Regions from separate parts of the Homo sapiens genome. Here region 1 is linked to region 2. Evidence: promoter capture Hi-C in human tissues and cell types (Jung and others, 2019). All regions are on one chromosome and are shown on one strand. Each heading gives the region's core, a stretch centred on a gene start or on the middle of the fragment in contact. The rest is flanking DNA. Distances are from core to core; before and after follow the strand shown. Region 1 overlaps SLC38A2 (solute carrier family 38 member 2). Region 2 holds the start of ENDOU (endonuclease, poly(U) specific).

Region 1 (6,467 bases), core at 3,331-5,830, 1.4 Mb before region 2:
GCTTCTGAATAAAGTTCAAAAAAGCAATTTCTTAAAAGTAAAAGAGTGCTTCTGAGGTCTTTAAGTATTTTTGGTACAAAAAATAATAGTGTTTTTGTCAATGGTTATTCAATATTTTGCTGTAAATTAAAAAGAATTGTTTCTCACATCAAATGGTTCCATTAGGCACATTCAAGTAAAATCATAAAATATCCAAGTTAAACAATGACACAGCCAAGCATGTGGCTTGATAAAAGTTAAGAGTTTGTCCATTCTCTGGAATGGAATAAAATTGTCACTTCCCTTAACCCGAGACTCGTGGTTTTGTTGTTCATATCCATTTCTAACATACAGATAAGTTTCTTAAAAAAACAAAACAAAACAAAAAAGTTCACTTATTCTGCACTCAGAAGAACCAGCGAGGAATCTGCACTTCAAAAGGAAGTGAAACTGAAAACATTAGGTGAAATTTCATAGTAGTTGAGTTTACTCAACACTGGCATCAGATGGACTGAGTTTGAGTTTGAGTGGTGCCAATTAATGGCCACCTCCAGGTGCATTGTGTACCCAATCCAAAACAATCAAGGCCATGCTTCCGGTCATCACCAGTACACCACTTAACAGGAAGAACAAAGCCTGCAAAGAGCATAGAGAAAATTGATCAGCAAGTAATAAAACATATATGCTAAACATTTCTTCTATTTTTTGAAATGTGCTTTAATTACTAAAATCTATCCACTATATAATCTATAGAAAGAATATTTAACTTGCTAAATATAAACTCCTAAGTGATCAGTATGTTATCTGCAGTACACAATAACTACCTTTGAGGCCTTCTGAACTTTTTCACTTTTTCATTCCTTTGTCTCAAGTGACAGGGAATTTTCTTGCTAAACAAACTGCTTCATATAGAACTGGACTGGATTTTTTTTTGCAATTTTTTAGAATGAAAGTCAAGTCACAAAATCAAACCCAAATCATCCTAAAATGCAGCAAAAGTCAAAGCCAGAGGTCTTTCCAGGAAATACTAATTCCTAAATCCTACCCTTCAATACTGCCACTATGTAATTTAGAGTAAAACAAGATGACAGTTGTTGGTTTATAAACAATTCTAGTACTTTAATCAGAGCAGAATGAAGGAGAAAATAATGACTAAAAAGCAGTCTTTTTCCTAAATATCACCACCAGGATTCTGGTTCTAGGAACCACATCATTTGTGGTTAGCACATCATTCTCTGTCACCAACTGGTACTACACTTTAGAGTAGATACATAATAGTAAACACCATGAAGAGACGGCCTCCCTGAGAGCTTCGCTCTGAAGATGGTCAGTCTCATTCAACTAAACAGCCCTTCCTTCTCTTTTATATATTCAATGCCCATTTAAGTGCCTGTCACACAGTAGGCAGTCCAGTGAAAACTGGTTGAACAAATGTTGAAAGCTGAGTATCTCATCTAGTCTTCATCCCTATTCCTATCTCCAAAGTATCTAATAACTTTATTGCAATTAATTTAAGTGTTCATTAGATGGCAAACTATCTTTCCCCTTCCCTCTGCAATCTTCCATCTGTGAAGTATACCATTACAGAAATGTTTGCTGGAAACTTAAAAGTGAAACCATAACAAATAACAGCTATGAGAATAAAATTAAAATCAGTTGGGGAAATTTATGATATTATTACTGTTTCTATGGTTATAATCTTTCACTCACCCCAATCTTTTGTACAGATTTCATAGGTTCTTTCTTCACCAACTTGATATAGAAGGCAGAAGGAAGAATAAAAATCAACATAGAAGCTGCAGATGCACCTGTAAAACAACATTTATGTTTCTTGAGGATTCAATGAACCACTCGTCATTCATTCTTTAAATCTTAAAATCCCTGATGTTTGAATCCACTTGGATACTTTCTAAAACTTACCAATAAAACCAAAGATATCCCTAATAGTTGGGACAAAGATGACAAGTAAATTGGTAAATGCCAAGATAGACACTGTAATGAGACTATGACGCCACCAACTGAAATCTTTTGATGCACACAACAAGTGAGTTACAGAACTCCGGATCTGCAAAAAAAATAAATAAAATGTATTTTAAAAATAGCAGCAATATAAAATTTAAAAATCCAGCTTCAATGAATGAAAAGAATGCCCAAGTAACAAGGAATCTATCCAAAATAGTAACTATTTCTAAATAAAACTGTGCCTCTTTCTCTGCTGTTTCCTGAACATCTGAACACTTAAAGATCATTTTATATCTTATGGTGAAAAAAATGTCCCCAGGGTATTTTGAAAATATACACTGTATTTTTAAAAAGCCCCTTCAAAACCACCACCAACTTAGTATTGTTCTACTGGTGTTTCCCTTCTTCCAGAAGATGAAAATCTCACCAATATTCACATGTCTAAAAACTCCTTCCTACTGAAAGCAGAGCAAGTGATTACTTACTGGGAAAATAACTACTGGTACTGTCAGGGTCACAGCCATTAACACAGCCAGACGGACAATGAGAAGAAGAATATCAGTTCCCAAGATAGAAGAGTAGGTATGAAGCAATTCTGACTCAACATGTTCTACAGGGAAAGACCAAAAAAACTTTGATTGGCTGTTTTCATTGGACACCAAGTAGAAAATTTAACAGCAAAATGTGCACCAGTTATTTAGCTACTCACAAAACGACTATAAACTAAGAGGCTAATAAGATTTGTTTGGAATTATAGTTAATGCAATTAAAGTAACATTGAAGGAAAATTTTTCTAAATACCACAGAGATTTAGCCACATGACTCCCATTAAAAACAACAGGAGTTAAGCAGCTAAATCTCCTGGCTTGGCTTGCAATTTGTGTTTGTGTTACATAGTCTGAAGGTGATGGGAGAGGAGACAGGCAATATGAACTCAGAGGCTGGCATATCATACAAATATGCCATCAAATGATTAATGATATTTTCAAACCTGGATTCTAGAAATTACTGATTAAATACACTACAGAAAATTCTAAGCTCTAAATTTAATTTCTCATCACAAATATGAAATATATTAAAACAGACTATTTTTAAAGTGATGGAACTACACATAGAAAACTAGCAGCTTCATTTCAATAAGCGTTTTTTTTTGTTTTTGTTTTTGTTTTGGTAAAGGAGGCGTTACTTACCGTAAAATGTTAGGTATCCAAAGAGGGCGGCAAGCAGATACATGAGAAACATAGCAAAAAATGAAATCTTGGACACATTCATCATTCTTCTACGGCTGCGGCTATGTAATTCAAGAGAAAATTCAAATATATATTTCAGCAGCAGTTACAGCAATTGTCTAATATTTTCTCAAATTTATGTAAAAATGAAATACTCACTCTTTCAGTTCTTCATAGATGGGAAGAACAGCAGGATGACAGACAAATGAAAAGATCAGAATTGGCACAGCATAGACAGTCTGAAAGAAAACGTAAAAATCTACTTAATCTGATGTAACGAACTCATGCTGTCACATTTCCGCAGCATATATTTTATGTAAACAATCTTAGAATCAAAGCCTAAGTTTCCTTTGTGTAATTAGCTTCCATTCTTCTAATCTGTTCATGAAGTATGATCAATATCCTCACTTCTGAATGTGTCAATTATTAGCACCATATGATTATCTCAATTCTCAATCTATTTTCAGATGTAAACCAAAACTTTCTTCACAGTCCTCAATAATTAGCTAATCACATGTTTTCTATAAAGCACCTATTATCCTCCTCCCTTTACCCTGGGAGTGAATAGCTTCCCTCTTTTCTTCCCTAAACTCTTCTTTTGAGAAAATAAGCATATTTAGTTACCTGTGAGTTGAAAATAAAATAGTGAGGTCTGCAAGAGTCATTTTCAGTCACGTTATGTGACAAAGCAGGTACAAGAGCTGTTGGCTGTGTTAAGGTGGTGTTTATTGTTTCGTTAATTATCAAAGCAGCTTCCACAGGACACGGAACCTGAAATTTCTTGCAAATGACCTAAAAATATATTATTTTGCATGTGTTAAACTAAGTGACATGGCAGGGCTTATAAAAAATTTTTTCTAAAAAAAAAATCATACCCACCACAATCAGAAAGAACACCATACACAACAAGGAAAGGCCACTGGTATATCCCAAATATCCTATAAGGAGGGGTGGCAGGAATCAGTATTAGTTTAATGAAACAGATTTAAGGCAAATATCTTTTTCCCACTGAATAACTCAATTCTGCTGGGAAGACTTTAGGCACTAAAGTATGTGTATAGCACTAAATTTCTAATTCTTATGATACTAAATTATAGATTTATTTAAATATACTTGTCATAACCCAAGCTAATAAAAACTATCATTTGCATTATTTCTTACAAAGCACAACATATAGTGTCAATTAAATATTTTGGCTCCTAAATTTTGCATGCTGTAAGTCCCAAAGATATACCTTTCTACTTTCTAGGGCTTTTTCATTCTGATTAATTTCTATTCAGAGAAAGCCCAACTAACTGGTGAGAGGCTCATTTCAATTCTCTTTAGAGATGAGTTTGCTCACCTAAATTTCTAAACAGCGACAAAGGAAGAATGACCACCAATGACACCAACAGAACCAAATAGTTCCCGTTCAGATACCACAATCTAAAGAAAACAGAAACAAGGTCAAAACAGTCACAAATATCCTCTGAAAAATATACACATCTTCTAACAGGACTCATTTCATAGGAATACCATGAAAACAAACACACAAAAAAGACATGTTTGGAAAAAGTTTCCCCTGTTCAAGATAGGAATAACTTTTTAATTTTGTGTGCTAGATGAACATTTACTCAGGTTAGAAGTCGGGTATAAAACAGTGTAACTTTTGTCCCACTACTTGCTCTGGGAAGGCTGCCAGCTGATTCATAACACAAAATGCTTCTCAAAGACTTGATACTAATGCAGGGAACAAAGCTTGTTTGTTAAGCCAGTAATCTTATCTTTAAGCACTTTCAGAAAAATTGTACACCAACTTTGGTACAGCTTTAGCATGTAATTTCTAATGCTGGAAACTAAAAAATTTTAAAACAAGTTTTTTTCCAGATGCGTTAGCAAATATTATTAAATATTTCAATGAGGAAACGTTTTCATAAAATGCACAGGCAAACTGCCCCCCCCATAAAAAAAATTATAAAACTCAGTCCCCCAAACCAGGACTTATTCCAGGTTATCAGAGTATGTTGTGACATCTTGACCCACCTTTAACTCCAAAGACAGCCAAAAATATCCCTTTTGAACTTTAGAAAACATTATGTATATCCTCTAAGCCTTTTTCTTTTTAGGTAAATCATGAATTGCACTGTCTTCTAAATCACTATTTTCAAATTCTAATTGCCTCATGAATTCTGTTCACTTCAGCAGTAAGCACTCTGCAGAACACCAACACTTAAAGATCAGCTTAAAAAATTAAATTTCTAAAGCCACATCTGAGATAACAGCACTTCTCTATTTTGACGTAATGAGCTGCACATAGGGTGGGAAGTAAATTATCCTTCCCCATGTTTACTTTAGATAAATACCTGTGAGTTCACTGGGATGAGTAACTTTGCTAGAAGAAAATGGTTTCTATAGCATGCCCAAACATTTTCTGGCACATGTTGAGTATCCCTTATTCAAAATGCTTGGGACCGAAGTGTTTTGGACTTTGGAGTACCTGCACATACATATTTGAAGTATCTTGGAGATGGCACTGAAGTCTAAACACAAAATTCACTTATGTTTCCTATACACCTTCTTAAACCCATAGCCTAAAGGTGATTTTATACAGTATTTTAATTAATTTTGCACACCTGTCACGAGATCAGGTGTGGATTTTCCACTTGTAGTGTCATGTTGGCACTCAAAAAGTTTTGGATTTCAGATTAGGGATGTCCAGCCTGTATTTTGCATTGAACAGATTAAGTCTTAAGAATTCCAAACTTACAAAAATAAGACGGATTAATTTTTAATGTAATTCAAAGCTTCAGTCCTCACTTAGGATATATATTAAAAACACCTATAACTTCTTTAAGTATGAACATAAAGACAGAAAGCAAGTTCTAGAAAACCTGTTTTAGAAATTAAGATATCCAAAATTGTAGGGCTAGCTACTATCTTTCGGCCTTTCCTTCTCCAAAGTTCGAATCAGTTTACGGGGATGGGGGGCCTTCTTGGTCAGTTTCAAAAGGAACATTTATGGATAATTAACTAATCATTTTGTATACAACTTTGATAAAAATGTATCTAACCACTTTTGACTATAATTGTTTCTTATGAGTAACCTTACTTAGCACCTACCCAGTTTTATCTTCAATGTTCGTTAATGCCTGGATCACCAAAGGCAACTCATATTTCACTATGAAGAGGTAGCTTGACATAGCTGGAGGAAAACAAAATTATACCATTACAAGTGCAAAACGCGGCACGTGACACTAAAACGCATGTGTCACCATTCTGTGCTCCACAATGAGCATAAAGTCTACCCAAATAATCTTT
Region 2 (6,701 bases), core at 1,572-4,071:
TCAACAGGGCCATCCCTTGGGCTGGGTTGTCAGCACATCTGTGTTGCTGGTTTCCTGGCTGACTTCATCACTACAGGTCTGTATTCTTTACATCAGAGAGGCATTGGGTCAAGGTTAACCCGGGTCCTCAGACAACTTCACATTGTCAGGCCTCCAAGGTGGGCAGGAAGGCAGGTTTCCAGTCCCTAAAAGAGACCAGGCCCAAGGCCACTTGTTCCTTCAAGCCGGCAGGAACTCCTCTTGAATGTTAAATGATGCTCCCTTGGAGCCTGAATGCAAAGACCTTAAGGAGAAATTTTCAGCCCATCAGCTCCCTGCTCAGTCAGCCTGGCAGTACACCCAGAATCCAAAGGGAGAGAATTCAGGCAAATCAGGGCAATGTTTTTAATGGGCCAAATCAGCAGAGTCCAGGGAAAGAATTCACTTCATTCCAGCAGCTGGCACCAGTTGAGAAGGGTTGCAAGCGAGCAGTCAGCTGGACGTGCAGGAGAGCACCCCCGCCGGCCCAAGCTGAGTGGGCTTTTTCATCTCTGCTCAAGAACTTTGTCTCCAGCAAGAGCCCCATGCCAGCACTTTCTCACATTTCTCTGTGCACTTAGTCTGCTTCAAGGTGACCTTGGGATTTGACAGTGGAGTGCAGGGGTGGGAGGAACTTTTCCTCATAGGCACTTTGCTGTGACATTCTGGGGACACTCTGATGAGTAACTAGTCACCCTAACAACTCACTCCAGCATCCCCACACTGCACCATTAACACCAACACTCTGAGTAAGCCTTGCTCCCCAAGCCAGGTGCCTGAATCACTGCTGTAGTAACCTGTGCCTCTTGTTCCTCTGCCTCACCTCTCTGACTCTCTGCCTTTCTTCATCTGAGCCTTTCCTCTCTCGGGTTCAGATTCTCCCTCCATTCCCCCAAGAAATGCTCAATTTCTCTGCACTTTCTAAGACTTCAATATGCCAGAACAGCCACTCCCTATCCATACTGGCCATCAAGGAAGCTTGGTCCCAAGCCTGGGTGGACACAGTGTCCCTGTACACTGGTGCTCAGCCCCTCTGATGACTGGGACATCCTACACATCTGTACCGTTAGAAGGCCCCAGATGCTGTTTCCATGGAGACCTAGTCAACCAAGAAGCCTCACCCCTTGGACTAGCTTCCTGCCTCCATTCACAACCAAAAAAATCAACCAAGGTTCTCCACAGACATCCAGCTCATAAAGGAGGACCTGAGGCTGTCAGTGATTCCCCATGTGATTCATATTCTTGCCTCTCAGTTCTGAGATGTTGGGATAGTATCAACAAGTGCAGAGCCTCTTCCCTGCCACCTTAGGAAGCCTCATACACTTGACCTCACTTCCCCATCGATCCCACAGCCAAAGCAGATACTGCCCTCCGACCTAGCAGCAAGAGCTCCACCTGCACTTCTAAAGCCACTGCTACCTCTGCCCCCCAGGGACCAAATATCCAGAGTTGCTCTCCTTCCCTAAGGCTGGAATATGCCAAGCCCGCTGGCCACCCCTACACATTAAGCCCCCAAGTTCCACCTTCCTCCCAACCAACAGGGCTGAGGCTGGTGGCTCCCAGGCCCACCCTCATGCTCTCCCACTGCCTCTCCACCCACTAGGGCCCAGGCAGAGCTGGTTTCTGGTAAGATGCACTATCTCATCCATGGTTGGGAGGCACAACTTCCTCTTCCAGGGGTTTTCCACTTAGAAATCCCATAAGGGTCTCCTTTCCACAACCCAGTTGGAAATGACCCCAAGCGGAAGTTTCTCCCAAGAAAATTTATAGTCATAATCATAGCGAATTTCCAGTTCACTGAGATCTCACTTTGCACCAGGTGCTTCTCATACATTATTTCATTTAATCCTTTCCACAGTCCTACACAGGAGCAACCCAGTGGAAGGATTCTTTCTCCTGTGGGCAGAGGAGGATTCTCCCCACACTCCTCAGCTCAGCCCCTCCCTTGGCACTCCTTCCCACCCACCCACTAGCTACCAATTAACCCATCAGCACCAGCATTTTGCACAGTTACTAAACAGGAACATGGTCCTGTTCCTCTGCCAGTCCCATCCCCTGGACCTCTCATAACTGTGGGCCAGGTCCCTTCTGTATTCTTCAATTCTCCTAACACTGCAACAGAGATCCATTCCTCTGACCCCTGTACAGCCCCAGATAGGACGAGGCCCACCTCCTGGTCAAAGGTCCTTTCAGTTTCCTCCTAAGCCTGCCCACCTCCTAAGGCTCTACCCAAAGTAACATCACACCCTAAACAACCTCACCTGTCACCAGGCAGTGGAAGGAGTGACCAAGGGCAGCCAGGCCACTCAGACCCCATGGACACCAGCCCTAGCTTTATTCCTTACAGTGGCCCCAGACAACAAAATCTTGGGGAGATCAAAAGTCAGGCTGGACTAAGGGATATTTGGGGCTGATCCTCCAAGGTGTCAAGAAGGGAATTCCATGAAATCAGACCATCAGCCCTGCAACTCTCTCCACATAGTCCAGTCCATTCCGGGACCAACGCCTGCACCCTCAGACAAGGACAACCCAAAAGTGCTCTGCGGCTTTAGGACAGAGCTCACCCTCCCTTGTCCCACGGCCCTGCCCTCTACCAAGTTCTCCAACTCTCTGCTTCTTTAGGCAAGATCCCGCCCCACCAGCAATCCCATGCCCGCCAGATAGTGACTTACCAGCCCAGGCCAGGCCACACAGCACGGCCAATACCAGGGAGATGCAGGCCCTCATGGTGCCCAGTTGGAGGCCAAAAAGGGAGTGGCTGTTGGACTTTCACTAGAGTCAGATGAATGTCACAGCTCTCAGACGAGCCTTATTCCTCAAGCTGATCCTTTTAAAGACACCAGGACTTGTGGAGCTGGTGTCTCCAGATCCTTTCAGGAAGAAAAAGGGGAGGGAGGGACCCTAGATGGATAGGAGGTGGGGCCCTACAGCTGTTTGAAGCCTGAGGGAAGGTGACTAAGAAGGTAGGTAATGCCAGATGTTGAGAACAGGTAATGCTAGCTGTTTGCAGCTTAAAAAATAGGTCATGCAGGCAGGCACACCAAGATGGGTCCAGTTTGGAGGGTTCTTTGTCCAAATTAGGGACACCCATGGGCTGATCTTTGGGTGATCCCCACCAAACAGACACCTACTTCCAAGTCTCAGACCTGACTTTCCAAGGGGCCACAGGTTGGATTCATCTTCAAATTCCTGGAGCTTAGCATGACACTGGCACACAGTAAGGTGATTGGTCCAAATTTGACAAACAGTAAGTGCCCAAGCAAGGGTTGGGGTCATTGGACAGAGAGATAGAGGATGTGTCGGTCAGAACCAGTGCTATTCTTATGACCACCAAGCCCAGCATAGCTAAATCAGCCACATGTCGAGCGCATGGCTAAATCACTCTAAAATATTATGCAAATGACTCTTACTGAGTCAGCCTCTGGGGTTTAAACGTTTCAGATTCCTTATGAGGCAGGGGAGGGGCAAGAGGCCTCTTAAAGGCAGCCGAAGGCCCACTCTTCTTCCCCTGGGAGCCCAGGGTTTCACTCCCTTCACCCCAACTTACACTCCTCTCCTCAGGAACTCCTCCCCAGTGAGGTTCTTTTGTTTCCAAGTCCAAAAGAAGGGGAGCAGCTCCCCGTGACTGTCCAGTTTTCCCCGATAATAAAGGTAAAATCTGCCAAGTATGATGCCCTTGCCAGAAAGAGCACTGCATGGGGATTCTCAACCCTCTCAGGAAAGAAAACTATCATATAAAAAGGCAAAATTGGTGAACAGTGGAGGCCACTCTATCAGTGATTTTTTTCTGGAGGTTGGGAGTGGAGCACGTCTTCATCCAGTGTGCTTTAACAGGAGAAGTTTCTTCCTCTCGCTGGTCTTCAGCTTTCTCATCTGAAATGATGGGGTTGGATCTGACAATCCCTTCCAGGTTCTCAGACTTTAATCTCGAGTTTTCCTGCCCATGCGCCAGGTTGAACAGTTGCTGGTGGGTTAAAGAGAATCCCCCAGCCTGTTGCTGTGTAGAGAGGAGTCCAAACATAGGGACTCAGGGGTAGAGAGAAGGACAAGCCTAGGGCAAGCAAACTTTGCAAGGGGCTCACACAGGAAGTGCAATGTATGTATATATTTTGAGATGGAATCTCTCTCTCTGTCGCCCAGGCTGGAGTGCAGCAGTGTGATCTCGGCTCACTGCAACCTCCATCTCCCCAGCTCAAGCAATTCTCATGCCTCAGCCTCCCGAGTAGCTGGGATTATAGGCATGCACCACCACACCTGGCTAATTTTTGTATTTTTAGTAGAGACCATGTTGGCCAACCTGATCTCAAACTCTTGACCTCAGGTGATCTGCCCACCTTGGCCTCCCAAAGTGCTGGGATTACAGGTGTGAGCCACTGCATCCAGCCCGGAAGCACAACTAAAGAGTGAGCCTAGCCCTTCTCTCCCAGAAGGGAGCTGGTTAGAATGAGTAAGAGCAGAAATGGCTGCTTCATTTGCATAGATTTCATTTACACAATCCAAAAGCAGGCTGAAGAGTCACTGCCCCTCAGAATCCTCATCCTCCCTGGGTTGGCACCACATAAACGTGTCTCTGACTCCTGTTGTTTAGGGGACAAAGGAGGGTGTCACTGGCTGGCCTGGGAAGCAATGATGCCTCAGAATTTGGGAATGAATGGTCTGTCCCTTCCAAGTGTCCAGCTGGGTGGACCCTAGCTGAAGCCAAAGCTGTCAGAGTGGAGTACAGCCTGGCTAGGTTCTCCTAGTGTCCAGCTGAACTGGCCATGGGATGGTGTTTTGAGGGCAGGAGCTCTCCCCCCATTAATGGAATTTTAGGTCAGGAGCAAGGATTGGAGCTGGGGAAGACAGTTAAGGATGACTCCATAGAGCCAGATGGTTCATCTGAGTACCCAAGTGTTTAAAACTGCATCCTTCAATAAGAATAACAGCCTTAACAACCACCAGCAACATTGACTGAGCACTTACCACGTGTGTTATCATATGTGTTATCTCATTGATTCTCACTACAACCTTAATAGGTACTATTGCTGTCCTCATTTTACAGATGAAGAAACTGAGGCACAGAAAGGTTAGGAGACGTGCCCAGAAGCACACAATCATTAAGTTATGCAGCTGTGCCTCAACCCAGATCCATCTGACCAGGGGTCATTCTCATAAGCACCGTTGCTCCATTGCCCCACAACATCACACTTTGAACGACCACTTAATCATGTCTGGTTACTATACAAAGCAGTCTAGATTTAAATTCACTGGAATTAAAGGGACCTCAACTGCCATCTAGTTCCACTTCTCATAGGATGTCACAACTCCCTAAACAACCCTAAGTGCTTGTCCTGCCTCTCCTTCATTGCCTCTGGTGCTGAGGGTTGAGGGGTGGGGAATTGGGATATGCCCTCCCACGGCTGCTCATACGCCCTCTTCGCAGATCGGATTCCCAAACCCCAGATTTTATAACCGAAGACATGCTGACAAAGGCAGAAAAAATCCATTAAGCCAATAAATGAAAATATATCAATACATATTCATGCAAAGATGCCTCATAAACTTAGATGTCCATGTATGTGTGTATACACACACACACACACACACACACACACACACAAAAAGAGAGAGAGAGAGAGAGAGAGAGAGAGAGAGATACATTAAGATAGATTTCAGGCAGCTTTCTCTTCCCTGCTAGCCTGTTGTGGACCAAGAACTCTGCGGCTCCTCTTTCTGAGTACCCCCCGCCATTAGGTACTCACATGGGCTTTCCATCCTTGCAGACTTCCCAAGAAGCCACAGTGGGACCAGCCAGCAAGTTGGGAATTGTGGTAGGCTGGGTCCTGGAGAGCTGGGGTAGGGAGAGAGTGGAGGGAGATGCATGGTGGATGGTGTCTCAATGATGAGAATAGCGACAGAGATGGTGCAGTTGTGTCCTCTGTGGAGGTCTGGAGAGTGGGGAAGAGGGTGAGGCTGCTTGGGCAAGGATTTGGGAGGCACTCAGCTGTGAGAGACATAGAGGGTGGGAATTCCATCAGCCAAATATTTATCGAGTGCTCACTACACATCAGGGGCTATGCTGTTATTGGACTGGCAGGGTTCAGGCTAGGCTGGAAAACTCTTCCTGGAACTGATTGGTTTCTGGTGGGACAGAAGCCAGATAAGCCTCAGCATTAGGGCATTGTTTGAAGTAGGCCTCATTCATCTCTGGGCTACCACAGGTGTCTGGGGTCTGTCAGGATCAACAGGCCTTGAGAGAGACTGACCCAGAGGACTACTAAAAGGGACACCTGCCCAGGCCAGCCTATTCTACCATCCTCGTTCTCCTGCAAAACCAAGGCCACGTCATTTCAGCAGAGGACCTGCGTGTGGAAGGACCCTGCAGCTGGCCCATCACAGGAGAGGCCCAGACTCACCTCCCAAGGGGACCCTGGCACATGAAGATGCTGGTTCTCCTGGGAGTGCTGCCCTGGCCCACAGGATAGAAGCGCAGGATGGTCACCCATGTCTGCTCTTATTGAATGTGTCTTAGAAGCGGCTCCATGTGTGATTTCTTTCCCACATTGGTTAGTATGGTGTATACCACGTTTGTGTTCCCAGGCTTTTGTTTAAGTTTGTGGGCAGCCCTGACATCAGCATCACACTCAATGCCTGGGCTGAGCATATCCGTCAGACCTCCCAACTAGGCCCACTCATCACATAGT

Evidence for each region. The method cuts DNA at HindIII sites, captures the fragments that hold promoters and counts their contacts. A contact is called where the count stands out against the background at its distance.
Region 1: a fragment that was not itself captured here is called in contact with the fragment with the promoter of ENDOU in region 2 in 1 of the 25 tissues and cell types used here (dorsolateral prefrontal cortex).

Annotation. Positions count from the first base shown.
Region 1 is chr12:46,360,595-46,367,061 of GRCh38, forward strand. SLC38A2 (solute carrier family 38 member 2) reads right to left here. Exons shown (of 16, transcript NM_018976.5): 7 at 6,270-6,351; 8 at 4,513-4,595; 9 at 4,050-4,108; 10 at 3,795-3,962; 11 at 3,330-3,409; 12 at 3,132-3,232; 13 at 2,427-2,551; 14 at 1,900-2,044; 15 at 1,690-1,787; 16 at 1-615. The coding sequence ends at 517. Among named protein-coding and RNA genes, the nearest start is that of SLC38A2, 8.9 kb to the right of the region's middle. The HindIII fragment of the contact is 4,962 bases long and covers 2,100-6,467 here.
Region 2 is chr12:47,722,669-47,729,369 of GRCh38, forward strand. It overlaps ENDOU (endonuclease, poly(U) specific), which reads right to left and starts at 2,822. Exons shown (of 10, transcript NM_001172439.2): 1 at 2,691-2,822. The coding sequence starts at 2,745. RPAP3-DT (RPAP3 divergent transcript) reads left to right here. Exons shown (of 4, transcript NR_183480.1): 4 at 6,219-6,701. RefSeq lists silencers at 3,337-3,456, 4,422-4,481. The HindIII fragment of the contact is 12,082 bases long and covers 20-6,701 here.